Linked DNA regions of Homo sapiens: region 2 is linked to region 1. Evidence: promoter capture Hi-C in 16 types of primary human blood cells and fetal thymus (Javierre and others, 2016). All regions are on one chromosome and are shown on one strand. Each heading gives the region's core, a stretch centred on a gene start or on the middle of the fragment in contact. The rest is flanking DNA. Distances are from core to core; before and after follow the strand shown.

Evidence for each region. Contacts are between HindIII fragments. The CHiCAGO score rates a contact against its expected background, and 5 or more counts as called.
Region 2: a contact is called between a fragment that was not itself captured here and the fragment with the promoter of VSX2 in region 1, in 2 of 17 cell types (M1 macrophages and M0 macrophages). The highest score is 5.5, in M1 macrophages.

The regions. Positions count from the first base shown.
Region 1 is chr14:74,236,960-74,242,751 of GRCh38, forward strand. It overlaps VSX2 (visual system homeobox 2), which reads left to right and starts at 2,490. Exons shown (of 5, transcript NM_182894.3): 1 at 2,490-2,972; 2 at 4,223-4,307. The coding sequence starts at 2,603. RefSeq lists an enhancer at 3,841-4,806. The HindIII fragment of the contact is 12,282 bases long and covers 1-4,760 here.
Region 2 is chr14:74,126,323-74,132,114 of GRCh38, forward strand. The region is part of intron 5 of LIN52 (lin-52 DREAM MuvB core complex component); the gene reads left to right. All of the region lies in intron 1 of LOC105370563 (a long non-coding RNA gene), which reads right to left. Among named protein-coding and RNA genes, the nearest start is that of LIN52, 44 kb to the left of the region's middle. The HindIII fragment of the contact is 475 bases long and covers 1,840-2,314 here.

The DNA of each region.
Region 1 (5,792 bases), core at 1,240-3,739:
TCAGGCTGGAGTGCAATGGCGCGATCTTGGCTCACTGCAACCTCCTCCTCCTGGGTTCAAGCAGTTCTCTCACTTGAGCCTCCGGAGTAGCACACGCCACCACACCTGGCTAATTTTCGTATTTTTAGTAGAGACAGGGTTTCACCATGTTCGCCAGGCTGGTCTCAAACTCCTGACCTCAAGTGATCCGCCTCCCTCAGCCTCCCAAAGTGCTGGGATTACAGGCGTGAGCCACCACGCCCGGCCACAAATGTCTTAAGTCTGGGTCCAGCCCAAGCTGGGCAGCTGGGGAGCAGTAACAGTGACACCTCAAAAGCTCAGAGACAGCCCCGTAGCCAGGAGTCTGTCAAGGAGTCCAGCTCCCAGGGTGGAGCTGGCCGCAGGTGGAAGCTGAGTCCTCCCTTCACCTTCAGCCTCTGGCAAGGGTTTTTCTCAGGGGGCCTGGGGTTGTCCCGGTCTCCAACCTCCTACAGCAGGATGGCGACTATCTCTCTGATATTGGGAACTGGCAGCTTCAGACATGGGGTTTGGTCAAGAGATTTTTCATCCTCATCTGGCAAGAGCCAACTTCATCACTCACACACTTGTTTTCCATCACTCACGTTTGCCCATCAGCTGGCATCTGGCTCATCGTGGATGTCTCATGATAAGTCAGGGACATGACAGATGCCATTAACATAACATCCTCATCCATCCTCCCAGGGTGGGCTGGCATGGAGAGTGGGCTGAGAGAGGGATGGAGTCAAAAGAAAACAGCTTCTGACATCAGACTCATGCGCTGACTCATCTGACCTCTGATGCTTACTAGCTAGGTAACCTCTTAGGCAACATAAGTTTGTGTATCCATTAAATGGGGACAGAAATTCTTTTCTGGCAGGTGAGTCTACTGCTTTGCACAACTCCAGAGGGCACCATTCACATTGTTGTCTACGTGAGTGGTGTTACTTGGGACCCACCTCCATAGAATATAAGGTGAAGAATGCCTTGAGATTGTGTCACCAGAGATGACACCATGTAAGGGGCCTGGGATGATGTAGGCACACAGTAGGCACGGCCTTATTATGGGATACAGAGGCACCACTCTCCCAGATATCTCCTGCACCATGAGATGCCCCTACCTAATTCCAGCTGTTATGTGGACCAAACCAATGGGAGTGGAGACCCTCCTCACAACAGCCCTGCTAGCAAGGTCTAGGTTCCACATCCTGAGGTGCCTCCTCTTACCTCTCAGGCTGGCCCCATGGCAGCCACGAGGGTACCAGACACCTTGGCAATAGGCCAGGTATGGCTAGGGGGTTTCCTTCCATTTGGGGGTTTGCACCTGACTGGCTAAGAAATCCTGGATGGAATCTTCCCAGCCTGGTTTTCCAATCTCTGCTTAAAGCAATGGACCTAGTCCTTATCTCCCCATAGGGTGCCTTCAATTCAAGGAACCTACCATGAACTGACCATATGCTAGGCGCAGTGAAGAAGGGAGCCTCAAGGTCGATAAGATAGTTCCCAGCCCCAAGAAGGTCACAGAAGAGTTAGCTGAGGTGGTGGAGTGCAGGGGAAAGCAGCTTACCTTTTAATTTCCTCTCACCCGCTTCCTCCTTCCTCTCCCTCCACATCAACAATCCCTTCCTCTTCATTCTGTTTGCTCAATGAACTCTGAAGTATAGCAGGGCCCTTGCCTTGTCTGATTTACTGCGGAACCCCTGGCTACCAGGTCGGAGCTAGTAGCTCAATACATATTAGTCGAATGAATTGGGTGGAAGAATCAAGTCCTCCCATGAAAGTTGGGCATGCTTCATGCTTACTCTAGGAAGAGGTTTGGATGTCCATGGTTGTTCTCCAAAAGTAATCATCACTGTTCCTCTTTCCCACCAGGGACCCCTCTTTCTGACCCATTTATCATTCATTCATTGGGCCAATATGTGTTGAGTAGCTCTTCCGAACTAGGCATTATACCTTGTGCTGGGGAAGCAAACTTTCCCTACCCCTACATCACCCTCTGCACACCTTGGCCTGATCTTTTCCCAGCTTACCACCACACACACTGCCCCAGCACTTACCTCTCCCTTGTTCAACCGTTTACACAGAGGTGCCATATTCAGGCCGCCCTGATGCTGCCAACCTGCATAGGAGTTGAGGGAAGGAGGTCTCCCAGTCTCTCACCTCTGCCCTTAGCCCATCCTTCCACCTGACCTCAGGGACCTGTCCCTGCCAGAATCTGCCCAGAGCCCCAAGCCACTCTGCCTCCCGGAACAGCCCTGAACCTGAACCTGGTTGTCTCACTTCGGCCCCTGGGGTCCCTGCCCATGGGCATCCTGCAGAGCCCACCCGGTGCTCCACCCCCAGCACCCTGGCCATTCGACATTGCCTGCGGCGGGAGCTGCCAGCTTTTTGGAATTCCTAATCGCTCCTGGCCCCGGTGATTGGCTGCTCAGCTCTGACCCCACTTGGGCTGCCGCCTGGTTGGATAAAAGGGGAATCTCCTTGGGCTCCAGAGCATTAGACACCGGAGGGGGCACCTGGGACCAACTTCGCGAAGCGGGAAGCCCGGCGGGGGGGTGGGGGGAGCTAAAGACCTGCGGCCTCAGCCCCTCCAAAGAACAGGGAGATGACGGGGAAAGCAGGGGAAGCGCTGAGCAAGCCCAAATCCGAGACAGTGGCCAAGAGTACCTCGGGGGGCGCCCCGGCCAGGTGCACTGGGTTCGGCATCCAGGAGATCCTGGGCTTGAACAAGGAGCCCCCGAGCTCCCACCCGCGGGCAGCGCTCGACGGCCTGGCCCCCGGGCACTTGCTGGCGGCGCGCTCAGTGCTCAGCCCCGCGGGGGTGGGCGGCATGGGGCTTCTGGGGCCCGGGGGGCTCCCTGGCTTCTACACGCAGCCCACCTTCCTGGAAGTGCTGTCCGACCCGCAGAGCGTCCACTTGCAGCCATTGGGCAGAGCATCGGGGCCGCTGGACACCAGCCAGACGGCCAGCTCGGGTAGGTGAGGAGAGGTTGCGCTGCTGCCTGACTGGGGGGCGACAGCCGGGAGCCCCGCGCCGTCGGCTCTCGCTTGCTGGACCAGGCCTCCAGGCGGAAAAGTTCCTGCCAGGCCGGGGGTCGCCGCCTGGGCCTTGGGCCGACGCGCCTGGTGATGGGGCCCGGGAGGATGCTTCGGCGTCCGCAGGGTTTCGGCCCCAAGCGTTTCGGGCGGCCGCGCAGTTCTCCAGTCCCCGCGTCGGGCAGGGCTCGGCCACGGCACTCTGTTGGAGCCCCACTGAAAACTGGGTTTGGGGTGTCGGAGCCCGTGGTGCAGAGTCGCCGGCCGTGTCGGAGGGCCCCAGCACCGCTGCTCCACTGCGGCCCCGGCCTGGTGTAGGATCCGCACTCCTCGAGCCCGATGCTGTTCCGGCTCCGGCCCCATCCCTGGTGTCCAAAGTTGTCTGATTCCCAAATCCCGCGCTGGTCAACTGGGGTTTATTTTTCACCCCCACGAGCTCAGACAACCCGGCCATCGCGGCAGCTAAAGCGGCCGCCATCCTCTCCCACGTAAGCGCCACTATATACTGGAGCCCGGGGACGCGCGGGCTCGGGGACCCTGGGTGACCTCTCCGCCTTCTCCCCGCGCTGCTTTCCGGGAGGTGTGTCGCGGCCCGCTCGAACCTCCGATTCCTGTTTGAGCTTGGCAATTCCCCCGATTTTTCGTTGCGTTTTACTTTGTTTTACGTGGAAAGGCAACGAAAACCAGCGCGTCGCAGGCTCTCGGGCCTCGAGTAGGGACGCATTGTGCCGCCTTGCGAAAAGGACGGTGCTCGGCAGCCCCCAGTCTTCCCGGAGCCCAGCTCCCCACGCCTCCGCTCCGCTCCTCGCTCCTCGAGGCCAACTTTCCGGCCCGGGGCATTGGGGCTGGCCGCGCAGGGCAGGGCGCAGCAGGGTCGCGAGCGCTGCCGGGGATCTCTGCGGCCCCCTAAGGCTGCCTCGCTCTCCGTCGTCCCGGTCCCAAGCGCGCCGGGGCCTTTGCCTCTCTTACAACGAAATCTGTTCAAAACCTCCGGATTCGGGCCCCGGCGCGGGAGAGGTCAGCCTGAGCTCAGGGATGGGACGGCCACCGGGGCGCCCGCAGGCTTCCTGGGGAGACAGAGCAGGTCCCCGCCGCTCGCGGAGGCAGCCCGGGGTGGGGCCCTCGCGGGTTTCGGGCACAGCGGAGCGCGTCCCCCACTCTGCCGCATGTCCCTACGCCCGCTTTTCAGATTCTGAAGATGTTTCCTCCAGCGATCGAAAAATGTCCAAATCTGCTTTAAACCAGACCAAGAAACGGAAGAAGCGGCGACACAGGTGAGGCCCCCGCTTTCTGTTACCTCTCCTGCCCGCGCACCCCGCTGCCGTCCCCCGTTCCGGGATCGGGTCTCTCGGACCCTATTTTCGCCGACAACGGATCTGAGGTCCGAGGCCGTGCCAGGGCGCAGACCACGGGTTGTTTGGCGGAATCTGCCCGGGGGCCTTGGCGTCGGCACCGGTTGAGCAGGATGAGTGGCCGCCGGGAAAGCGGCCCGGTTCGGGCTTTCTCCTCCTTGTTCAGGAGAAAGGAAAGGCTCCAACACAGGCCAAACTGAGCCACAGAGTGGGGGCGGTCCCCAGATCCCCGCACCAGTACATTCTGAGAGCCACACAGACCCGGCGGCGGGCAGATTAGCTCCCACCTCCTGCCAGAGCCGGTTCTTTGCCCTCGGCCTCAACCGCCGCCCCCATTTCTCTCCCGGGGTCCCTGTCCTCTCTGCCAACTCCCTAAGCTTTCTGCTCCCACCGTTCTCCAAAGCTGGAGCGATCTCTGCACTGACAGAGCATTTTCTTTTGGCTTCTGCTCATTCGTGATTCTGACCGAGTCGCTTCCCTTCTGTGAGCCTCAGTTTCCTCGTCTGCAAAATGGAGTGGTAGGCGATGTAGACTGGACGGTCCCACCAGCCGTAGCTGGAGTAGGGTGGACTGCATCGGGGTACAGACTAGAAAGGGTTTTGTTTTGTTTTGTTTTGTTTTGTTTTTGTCTTTAAATGGAAATTACTTGCACAAAGTTAAAACTCAGTAGATGCCGACAGGTATATCTTGAAAAGTAACCTACCCTTCTCCCACCCCCGCCCTCATTCCCTTCCGCACCAGCCGCACTGCTACCAGTTCCTTGGGTACATTTGTAAGGTGGTTTTCAAGGAAATAAAGGAGAAAGAACCAAAAATCTGCCTGCCTTTCTGCGGGTGCTGCTCGCAGGTGCTGCCCCGGCGCTCACCTCGGAGCTATTTCCCCGCACCCCACTCCGTCCCCATCAGGTGGGGCCGCCACAGACTCTGCGCCCTTTCAAGACATTTCTCCACTAGGGCGTTCTCTGGCACCCCCGCCGCCACATCGTTTTCTCCCACCCTAATTTGTTTTCAGCCTCTTTGCACCCTCTCTGCGCTTTTCTATGCTTCGTTCTTCCTTGGCCCTGGGAAACTCCACTGTTGACCGCCACCTTTTAAAACGGCCTATCCTCACCCCTTAGGCCCTAATAGGTTTTGGCTTGAATGCAGGTGAACTTCGACTTGGTTTCTCCGGATCTCGGTCTATTCTTTTTCCGGCAGCTGTTTGCATTTGTTTAGTTTGTATTGTTTTATTTTAAAAGGAAAAAGAAAAATTTTTTTGGTCTTGATCTTTGGTCTTTTTTTTTTTTTTTTACATTCAATTCATTCAACGAATATTCATTAAAACACTTTTTATGCACCCATCTTACGCGGGTCCCAGGGTGGGTAATCTTGTCATCTTCCCCAGGCAGGGACAGGGACCTTGCAGGGA
Region 2 (5,792 bases), core at 827-3,326, 110 kb before region 1:
GTATTTCTTCAAAAGGTTAAAAGGTAGAATTGCCATATGCCCAGCAATTCCATTGCTAGGTTTATACCCAAAAGAATTGAAAACAGGTACTCAAACAAATGCTTCTACACAAATGTTCACATCAGTACTATTCACAAGAGCCAAAAGGTAGAAACAACCCAAGTGTCCATCAACAGATGAATGAATAAACAAAATGTGGTATATCCATACAGTGGAATATTATTCAGCCATTCAAATGAATGAAGTACTGATGCTACAACATATAAATAAATCTTCAAAATATTATACTATATGAAGGCAGTTAGACACAAAAGGACACATAATGTGTGATTTCATTTACATGAAACATCTAGGGTAGGTAGATCCAGAAGACATGAAAAGGCAGATTGGTGGTTCCCAGGGCCTAGAGAAAGTGTGGAATGGGGAGTGACTACTTTATGGATTTGGGATTTTTGTGGGGAAGGTGAAAATGTTTTGGAACTTGATACAAGTGGTGATTGCACAACATTGTGAATGCACTAAATGCCACTGAATTGTATACTTCAAAAATGTGAATTTCACCTCAATCAAAAACTAGCTAGTATGGTGTTTGACACCTAGCAAGCTACCAATAAATTTAAAATATTATTACATAGTGTCACCTTTATCAGAAATTTAGCTTCGTGACCTTGGTCATCAATTTCCTGAGCTGAAAAAATGAAGTTGTTGGAATAGAAGACCTCTAAGGTCCTTACAGCATTAAAATTCTACTATATTAAGGCCTAGTGTTTCTAATTCATACAGTTAATATTTATTATGTAACTTCAGAGTACTATGCTAGGCAGCAAGGACTTAGCAGTAAATAAGACAGATATAGTTCCTGCTGTCATAAAGCTAACATTCTAGTAGATAAGGCCTTACACAAATAATTATTTGCTGAGATATTGTTCTAAGTACAATGTGGGACAAGGCCTAAGAGGGCAGGGATGGGTCTCCTGAGAAAAAGATATTTCGGTATGAAGAATGAGTAGGAGTTAACTGGGTGGAGAGAACGGAGATGAGCTTTCAGAAGGGAACAGCAAAGTCTGGTAGTGGGAAGGTGCACAGTGTCTTTGAAGAACTGAAAGAAGACTAATATGAATTCAGACAGTGACTGGTGAGATAGACAGGTTGGCTCATGTGAGATTTCTTAGGTTTACTAAGGATTTTGGGTATTATACTGAGAGCACTGGGAAGCCACTGAAAGGCTTTAAGCAAACAATATTCAGTTTCTGATCATGTAAAAAATGGTTTGCAGGAAGGCAAGTGAGGAACTAGGGAAATAAAGTAGGAAGTCATTGCAATAGCTAAGACTGCTGCCTGGAACTAGGGTACTGGTAGTGGACATGGAGAGAAGTAGTTAATTTGAGAATGACTTAGGACACAGAATAAGTCTTTTTTTAAACTTAATTTTTTTTTTGAGATGGGGTCTTGCTATGTTGCCCAGGCTGATCTTGAATTCCTGGCCTCAAGCACTCTTCCCATCTTGGCCTCCCAAAGTGCTGGGATTACAGGCATGAACCACCACGCCTGTCTGGGACAGAGAATAAGTCTTGATGGACTGGCTGTGGGAAAGGGGAGAAGGGTGTCAGGGATGACTCCTAGATTTCTCTTGAGCATGTAAGTCAGTGGCATGCAAAGAACATTGGAGGGACCTCTGCTTTTGGTCAACTTGGTATGTCAGGGACTAGATTCACCTTCTTACCTGAAACAGTTTTTTTAAATGGAAAATATATGAAATAATGATTTTCAGGATGCTGGACATCAGGCAACAAAGGACAGTAATCACTAAAGAGAAAGGTGAACTTTGTGACTGCCCCAAGCTTACTGCTTTGAAAGAATTTCCAGGCTGTGGTGCAGGGAGAGGGACCCAGGCAGAGGCTGGTGGGCTTCCTGAGTTGAAGAAATGGAGCTGAGAGTGTGGAGAGGCCAAGACAGCTAGAGTTCACAGGACAGCAGAGTACCGGAGAGGAGAGGGCGGCACAGAGAAAGAAGAGAGATCCACAGAGGGTCCTCCTGGAGTATTTAGCTGAGGACTGATCAGCACATTCATGTGAGGGAGCTTCTTGAGGATGAAGAAAGAACCATCCAAAAGGATTGGAAGGAACAGTGCCTGGCACCACTGGGCCAGTAATAGTGCCTACTCCCACTGGACTGGAGAAACCTCATCATTCACAGGACACCAGGGAGGACTCAAAAGGATCTTGCCTCTGTAGTGTGGAATACATCTGTCAAAACATACCAAACTATACACTTCAAATATGTGCATTATCATATGTGAATTATATCTCAGTAAAGCTTTTTACTAAAGAACGCTGTGGCTGGGTGCAGTGGCTCATGCCTGTAATCCCAGCACTTTGGGAGGCTGAGACAGGCAGATCACTTGAGATCAGGATTTCAAGTTCAGCCTGGCCAACATGGTAAAACCTCGTCTCTACTAAAAAGTACAGAACATTAGCCTGCTGTGGTGGTGCACGCCTGTAATCCCAGCTACTCAGGAGGCTGAGGCATGAGAATCTTGAGCCTGCGAGACTGAGGTTGCAATGAGCCAAGATCGCACCACTGCACTCCAGCCTGGGCAACAGAGCAAGACTCTGTCTAAAAAAACAAAACAAAACAAAACAAAAACAACAACCCTGGAGGAGGAACAGATTGTAAGGAAAGATTATGCATTTAGTTTTTGACATGGGGTTTGGCTTTGGTTGTTAACTGGAGACATTGTTTAGGCAGTTAAATGTATGAATGAGTGAGTTAGTTTTAGTGGGATGGTGGAGGCAGTTTGAAATGGAGTGAGGAATGAGTGGAAGGTAGGAAATGGAAACAGGATAGGGAGATAATTCTTTCAGAGTTTGACTCTTAAGAGGGACAAAGGGTGAAAGCTAGTGGGAGAAGTGGAGTCAGAGTTTAGTTGCTTTAGGATGATAGACTTAATATATATTTAAATCTCAATGCCACGATAGAAGATGCAGGTTAATCAAATATAAGTAAGGTTTCTGAGAGGGCGCAGGTGAATCAAATATAAGTAAGGTTTCTGAGAGGGTTTGAAGGCATAGCACTTAGAATATGGATGTGTTGGCTTTAGATTGGAAGAGAGCTACTTTGTCTACTCTTGTATAACAAGGGAAATGAGAGAGGATAGATGAAGATCAGGTTTGTGAGTTGGTGGGAAGATGAAGAGGTGCTTATATGTTGGATCCCAGACTGCTTTTCTGTATTTCTAAATTACATGCAGCCGGGCACAGTGGCTCACACCTGTAATCCCAACACTCTGGGAGGCTGAGGCAGGAGGCTCACTTGAGCACAAGAGTTTGATATTAACCCAAACAACATAGTGAGAACCCATCTGTACAAAAAATAATTAGCCAGGTGTGGTGACACACACCTGTAGTCACAGCTACTTGGGAGGCTGAGACAAGAGGATTCCTTGAATCCAGGAATTCGAGGCTGCAGTGAGCTGTGACCATGTCACTTTACTCCAGCCTGGGGGACAGAGTGAGACCCTATGTATAGTCTGTTTTCATGCTGCTGATAAAGACATACCCCAGACTGGGAAGAAAAAGAGGTTTAATGGACTTACAGTTCCACATAGCTGGGGAGACCTCACAATCATGGCAGAAGGCAAGGAGGAAAACATCACGTCTTACATGGATGGCGGCAGGCAAAAAGAGAGCTTGGGCAGGGAAACTCCTCCTTTTAAAACCATCAGATCTCATGCAGACCCACTTGCTATCAGGAGAACAGTATGGGAGAAACTGCCCCCGTGATTCAGTTATCTCCCACCAGGTCTCTCCTACAACACGTGGGAATTATGGGAGCTACAGGATGAGATTTGGATGTGAACAAAGAGCCAAACCATATCACCCTGTCTCAAAAAAAATAAATAAATTACATGAACACATATTAGGGAATGAGGAATTTATTAGATAGGCATTTTTTGGTTTTTTTTTTTTTTTTTTGAGACAGTCTCGCTCTTTTGCCAAGCTGGAGTGCAGTGGCTCAGCTCACTGCAACTCTGCAACTTCTGCCTCCTGGGTTCAAGCGATTCTCCTGCCTCAGCCTCCCAAGTAGCTAGGATTACAGGCGTGTACCACCACTCCTGGCTAATTTTAATATTTTTAGTAGAGACAGGGTTTCATCATGTTGGCCAAGCTGGTCTCAAACTCCTGACCTCAGGTGATCTGCCCGCCTTGGCCTCCCAAAGTGCTGAGATTACAGGCATGAGCCACCACACCTAGCCTAAATTGGCCATTTTTTTTTTTTTTTTTTTTTTTTGAGACGGAGTCTCACTCTGTCACCCAGGCTGGAGTTCAGTGGTCTTGGCTCACTGCAACCTCCACCCGGAAGGTTCAAGTGATTCTCGTGCCTCAGCCTCCCAAGTAGCTGGGATTACAGGCATGTGCCACCACGCGTGGCTAATTTTTTTTGTTTAGAGATGGGGTTTTGCCTTGTTGGTCAGGCTGGTCTCAAATGCCTGACCTCAAGTGATCCACCCGCCTTGGCCTCCCAAAGTGCTAGGATTACAGGCATGACCCACCGTGCCCGGCCCTAAATAGGCTTTTAATTGTAGAATTGACAACCAAAAATTTAAACATAATTTATGAATTAAAATTTTTATTATTTATTTATTTATTTATTGAGATAGGATCTCTGTTGCCTGGCTGGTCTCCCACTCCTGGGCTCAAGCATTTCTCCTGCCTTGGCCTCCCAAAGTGCTAGGATTACAGGTGTGAGCCACGTCACCCAGCCCACAAATTAAATTTTTTATTCTTAAGTATTCCTATTGTCTATTTGCCTTCTAGGCTATCGTGCAACAAATAACCAGCCCAAATCCCATCATCCATTGTCCAGTATAGTTGTGCTTTTCATGGCTGTTAGCAATCTTGAGTAAACCCTGGTGTCAGCTTAGAATTCCTAAGTGCTATGGTGTTTCTAAGTGAGATTGAGGGATATCCAAGAATAAACTTTGCTATTTAAGTGACTTTTTTTTTTTTTTTTGAGACAGAGTTTCACTCTTTTTGCCCAGGCTGGAGTGCAGTGGCATGATCTCAGCTCACTGCAACCTCTGCCTCCCAGGTTCAAGCGATTCTCCTGCCTCAGCCTCCCGAGTAGCTGGGATTGCAGGCGCCTGCCACCACGACTGGCTAACTTTTTGTATTTTTAGTAGAGACGGGATTTCACCATGTTGGCCAGGCTGGTCTCGAACTCCTGACCTCAGGTGATCCGCTTTGACCTCCCAAAGTGCTGGGATTACAGGCGTGAGCATCGCACCTGGCCGTAGGCTTAAACTTTTTAATACATGCCGATTTTATAGCTGAAAAATTATGTTTCAGTATTTTTAATACGCATTTCTTGGTTGCTAATAAAGTAATGTTTACTGGCCACTTGTTTTTCCTCCTTTTATGAATTTTCTGTTATACTGTTATAGTCCTTGTCTGTTTTTCTGTTGGTTGAGTTTCCAGGATTTAAAGATGAGGAAACTAAGACCTAAAAGAAGTGACTTTCCCAGGGCCAACTAGTAATTTAGTGATAGAATCAATCATCATAGCATGTTAAAGCTGGAAGGAATCTTAGAGATAGAGTCACAACCCTGTAATATAACAGATGCAGAAACAGAGGGCTAAAGATCTTAGGTGACTTACCTAAAGACAGCTACAAAGCTCATTAGTGACAGAACCTGGCATCTGAATCTTGAGATCATGAAAAGGGAAAGGCATGTTAACATTTATGAGCCTGTTATGTTTCTTACATGTGTATACTCATTTAATTCTCACTAC